Regions from separate parts of the Homo sapiens genome. Here region 2 is linked to region 1. The links are contacts of gene promoters, found by promoter capture Hi-C in blood cells and fetal thymus (Javierre and others, 2016). All regions are on one chromosome and are shown on one strand. Each heading gives the region's core, a stretch centred on a gene start or on the middle of the fragment in contact. The rest is flanking DNA. Distances are from core to core; before and after follow the strand shown.

The links. The method cuts DNA at HindIII sites, captures the fragments that hold promoters and counts their contacts. A CHiCAGO score of 5 or more calls a contact.
Region 2: a contact is called between a fragment that was not itself captured here and the fragment with the promoter of NEUROG2 in region 1, in 1 of 17 cell types (neutrophils). The highest score is 5.1, in neutrophils.

The regions. Positions count from the first base shown.
Region 1 is chr4:112,514,868-112,517,457 of GRCh38, reverse strand. NEUROG2 (neurogenin 2) reads left to right here and starts at 1,278. Exons shown (of 2, transcript NM_024019.4): 1 at 1,278-1,611; 2 at 1,982-2,590. The coding sequence starts at 1,983. It overlaps NEUROG2-AS1 (NEUROG2 and ZGRF1 antisense RNA 1), which reads right to left and starts at 2,079. Exons shown (of 4, transcript NR_161159.1): 1 at 1,818-2,079. It overlaps LOC124900760 (a long non-coding RNA gene), which reads right to left and starts at 653. Exons shown (of 2, transcript XR_007058231.1): 1 at 419-653. RefSeq lists enhancers at 57-176, 277-376, 1-507 and silencers at 517-796, 2,117-2,186, 2,447-2,590. The HindIII fragment of the contact is 11,776 bases long and covers 1-2,590 here.
Region 2 is chr4:111,995,145-111,997,734 of GRCh38, reverse strand. All of the region lies in intron 1 of LINC02945 (long intergenic non-protein coding RNA 2945), which reads left to right. Among named protein-coding and RNA genes, the nearest start is that of LINC02945, 120 kb to the left of the region's middle. The HindIII fragment of the contact is 1,435 bases long and covers 577-2,011 here.

The DNA of each region.
Region 1 (2,590 bases), core at 29-2,528:
TCTCATTGAAAAGCAGAATTGGGAAGATGGGCCCCTTGTCCCTACAACGCCCCCCAGCGCGGAGCAGAGGTCACAGAAATGTCAGCGCAGCGCATTTGCTTGCAGGAGCAGCAGCTCTGCCGCTCCTCCCGCTCGGTTCGCTGCCACCCACGCAGGAAGCCTCCTTGCTGTCCCTCCAGGCTATAAACTGGGTTAACCCCAGCAAAACCTGCATCAGTGCCCGGAGCCTCAGTTTCCTGTATGTAAAATGAGGGGGATCCTTTCAGCTCTAACATGTGAGTGATTTCATTCTCACATCCTCTAAAAGCTCATCAACTGCTCCCCTATCCGACCTCCCCTCCCAAGAGACGCCTGTTTGAATCCCCAGTGTCCTCTCCCTTCACTCTCCCACGCCAGTTTCGACGGACCCCAAACACACTTGTTCACGAGGTGTCCACATCTCTCCATCCACGCCATTCTCCTCCCCTAACCAAATGAATCCATTTTAAAATCGTTTACTATTTGATACAACCCCTAAGAGGCTTTGCCAAGAGACGCCCGGCAGCACCACAGGGCTAACTGCTTTCCCCGGGATTCTGACCCCCATTAACTAATTCCTAGTTCCCATCACCCGGGAGTTAGGAGGGCCGGCAGCGCCGGGTGCGGTGCCTGCGCGCGCGCCGGGCGGGGGGAGCCTCGGCGGCAGCGAGGACGAAGGCGGGGGCGGTAGCACGGGTCCCCCCATCCGCCCCCAGCGCTCGGGCCCCTAATGAGCTGCTGAAAGGGAGCGGGCTCCGGTGCGCGTGGCTCGCAGGCCTCCCGGAGTCCAGGGCGCCCTGATTGGCCAGCTGCGCCTCGCGACCTCCATTCATTAATAAATTAGCGGCACGCTCCAGCCGAGCGCGAGCCACCAATCACAATGGACAGCGGCGGCGACAACAGCCGCAGCTTGAGCCTCTGCGGCCGCTGCGGCTTCGCCAGCTCCGGCCGCAGCCCGGAGCTCCAACAGGAGCTTTAGAACCATTTTATGTTGATTAGATAAAGGGGGAAAAGAGAGGCGGGGGTGGTGGGAGGAGGAGGATGGATGGCAGGGCCAAGGGAGGGGGAAAGGCGGTGAAGAAAGAGGAAGAAATGAATGATGATAATGCAATGAAAAGAATAAGCCAGAGGAGGGAAAAGCGGGGGAGAAGGGGGGCAGGACTGACAGGAGGAGGAGGCGGTGGCGGGGGAGGAGGGGGCCCGGGGCAGATCTGATTGTTTTCTTGGTGGTATATAAGGGGTTTTAAGGAGAGTCGTGTGCCAGACACGCAGCCACTGAACCACAAGCAGCTTCGCGTTAACTGGAGTGCCTGGGAGTCGCGTGCCAGGAGCCGCACGGCCAGGGACTGACTGACAGACAGACACGCACCACCACCACAACACACGAGACCCGGGCGGGCCGCCGCCGCCGCCGCCGGGGCTCTTGGCAAACTCGCCGGTCGCAGAGGTCCCCCGCGGAGCTGCGCCACAGTAGCGCCGGGCTTGCAGCTTTCACGCCGGGCGAAGGACCCGGCGCTGCGCTCGCAGCTGCGCGGAGATTCCCGGCACAGGCCAAAGTCACAGCAACGCTGAGGCACAGTTAGAGCCAACTAAGTAAGTATTCGAGCCACCGCTTCCAACTACGCAGGTGGTTTCCCCGCACTCAGTCCAACCACACCCGCACGCCCTCTGCTCCGCGCAGAATCTTTGTCGCGGAGGCCGCAGTCCCTTCTCGGGGAGGGAACGCAGGACCGCCCGCGGAGGGCAGGACCCGGCTGACTGGCAGCAGGGTCACAGCGAGCGCTAGCGGCGCTCCTGACCTTGGTTAGCACTGCCTGGGTTTCTTCCTTCGCCTTCCTGCTCCGCGCCATTCGGAGCTGGTCTTCTCGGGTGCGCGCCGGAGCACGCCCCTGTGACACGAAGATCGCGCCTCTGTTTCTTTCCTTACACCTCACTGCCTTTTTCCCCTTTCTCTCTTCGGTAGGATGTTCGTCAAATCCGAGACCTTGGAGTTGAAGGAGGAAGAGGACGTGTTAGTGCTGCTCGGATCGGCCTCCCCCGCCTTGGCGGCCCTGACCCCGCTGTCATCCAGCGCCGACGAAGAAGAGGAGGAGGAGCCGGGCGCGTCAGGCGGGGCGCGTCGGCAGCGCGGGGCTGAGGCCGGGCAGGGGGCGCGGGGCGGCGTGGCTGCGGGTGCGGAGGGCTGCCGGCCCGCACGGCTGCTGGGTCTGGTACACGATTGCAAACGGCGCCCTTCCCGGGCGCGGGCCGTCTCCCGAGGCGCCAAGACGGCCGAGACGGTGCAGCGCATCAAGAAGACCCGTAGACTGAAGGCCAACAACCGCGAGCGAAACCGCATGCACAACCTCAACGCGGCACTGGACGCGCTGCGCGAGGTGCTCCCCACGTTCCCCGAGGACGCCAAGCTCACCAAGATCGAGACCCTGCGCTTCGCCCACAACTACATCTGGGCACTCACCGAGACCCTGCGCCTGGCGGATCACTGCGGGGGCGGCGGCGGGGGCCTGCCGGGGGCGCTCTTCTCCGAGGCAGTGTTGCTGAGCCCGGGAGGAGCCAGCGCCGCCCTGAGCAG
Region 2 (2,590 bases), core at 45-2,544, 520 kb after region 1:
ATTCTTGGGCTTGAGTGCTCCATCTGCCTCCCAAAGTGTGGGATTACAGGCATCAGCCACCATGAGTGTCCCACTAGCTTGCTTTTATAAGAATCCAAGACACTTGCTAGGACAGCGCAGCTGCCAGTGTTCTGGTTTCCAGGTGGGCAAAGAGGTGAAGGGTTCCCAGTGTTAGGTGGGTCAACTGTCACATAATCCCCTCTTTTCATTGTGGTGCCTCATTGTCATTCTTAGCTGTGCAATCTTAAAAGCCTCTCTACTCGAGGGAGGGCTGTTACTCAGTCTTCTTTGGGATGGAAGAGGAGAAGCCCCATGACTAGGATAAGAGTTAGGAGGGAAATCTGGGGCTCTGATTGTTGTCTATCATGATTTTCAATACATCTGCCTGTTTTCTGGCCCACCCTTCAACTTATACTTTAGAAGGACCTGGTTCCTCTAATTTGGAGTCTGTCTGAGGTTTTGCAGCCTTCTGCATAGTCAATGCCAGGTGTCTGATCTCAAGCTACTTTTAGGTATTTAGTGGTTTGGTATAATCCAAAAGAAAACTGTTTTCGATCTCTCATCCAAATCAAAGCTTCTCTCTTTCCCTGCCTAGTGACTAAGTGGCCAGCAGTGGGCTAGGGGGATCTGGTGAATTATTGTTCTATTTTTCTTGCTTCTGCCTTTCCTTTCCATACGTCAGGTTGCTTCAGGATGGAAGAAGGAGAGGTGAGTGGAGGATGAGAGAAAAAGCGCCTTTAAATTAACAAAGACTGCTAGTTCTCTCTTGGCTCTCCAATACCCATAGAGCCTTGTTATGCTGGTATCTCATGGCCCTGGAAAGCAGTCATTTTGGGCAATGTTTTCTTAGTTGCTTCATGCCCATATATCTTCCTTAGTGTCAACCTAATCCTTGGGACTGTGGCATGATCTCACTAAACTACTCTTTCTTCACTCAGGTGTCATGGTTTTTCTGGCCAGTTATCTGTTCTCATCTCTTCAAAAGAGGTCAGACATCAGAATCTATGTCCTAAAACTCCAGAGGAAAAAAGCCAAGAACCTTCTCTCACTCTGTGCCCGTGGTAATATAGGGTTGACTGTGAGCTTTTGTTCTCAGCAAGGATATTGTCTGGCAGTCTGTCTTTCTGGAGAGCATCTTTTCTATCTTTTTCAGTAGTTCTCTTTGGAAGACTTATTTGGCTTGAGGAGAGAGGAAATGAGACAGTACTATTTATACATAAATGCATTACAGAATCCTCACCAGGAGAGCTCCCTATGGTTCTCTTCTTTAGACCACCAGGGATAAATATTGTTAAATGATAAACAGTCTAGTGACCTACTAACAAGTCTTACTTGGGTGTGTCTGTAAATTTTTTTCTTTATATATTTCTTTCAATCCAAGATACATTCTTTGCCCTTTTCTATCCTGTGTTTTACTCCGGGACACTGATCCCTACAGATTTCATTACCTGGATTCCCCCATAGCTGATTGCTATCCTCCAGTTGGATTTGGTCAATAGGAGATCAATGGGAGAATAAGAGGATGGGAGGAAAAAGGGGTCAGAGTGTTTACTTCCTTTTCCTCCTATTCCATCTTCTATGGCTACAGCTCCCATCACTGGTCCCTGCTTCTCAACCTCAGGTCTCTCTGGGTTCCTGGAACAATATTTTCTCCCTTTCTTCCTTCAGTGCCAGTGGTGCTAATTTTTGCTTCCCACTATTGAAGTCTCTGGGTGTCTCACCATTCTTTGTTTGTTTCCTTCATCATGCCCAAAACTAATGTAAGTTCTCACTTCATTGGAGTTTCTTCATTTGGTTGATTTGGAGTGAATCTTTTTCCTACCAGAATCCTGAAGCATACTGTAGGGGTGTTAGTATCATGGAAAATAGAACCATAGCTTCTGAATTTGAAATAAGGGTTTGTCACTTATTGAGAATGAACTGCATTGCAGGAAGGAAGGATGCGAATACTCAACAGTCAGATGCTAGGAGCAGTCACATCCTAGTTCCTTAATGCATCAAAACCAAAGCTTTCTTTATACATACATAAAGCCTAAGAGCCACTTTAAGCATTGCCTTGGTGAGGAGAAGGCAGAATGTGTAAATACAAATTAAGGTGTTCCTAACTTTGAAAGGGAAATGGTGACAATGTTTATCTGTATGTATCTTTTCTGGAGCCTAATTTTTTCTCTAATGACTTACCGTATTATGAAAGAACTGGTATCTTCATAGTTCTCACTCACTTTCCTCAGCTTTGAAGAATGGAAAAACCCCATTCATTTCCTGTTCCACAAGCAAAGCTCTTGTTCCATGCAGGTTCATGAAATTAATCTTTTGGTTTAAATTCTGTCTGCTCTTAGGAATGTCCCCACTACTTTGGATATTTGCATAAGAAAAAGGAAAAGAAAAAAGAAATCTAGTATATCATTCTTGGGGTGGAGAAAGTGGGAAAAAGAAACAAGACCAGCCGCCTGTTAAATGGGTCTATAATGTTCCTGGTGAATCTTGAGAAAAATGCAGTGTGAGAGGGAGCTGATCTAGCCTATTGTCCCCAAAGGACAGAACACGAGTAATTTCAACAGGTTTACAGAAGCTTTTGCCAAGAGGAAAA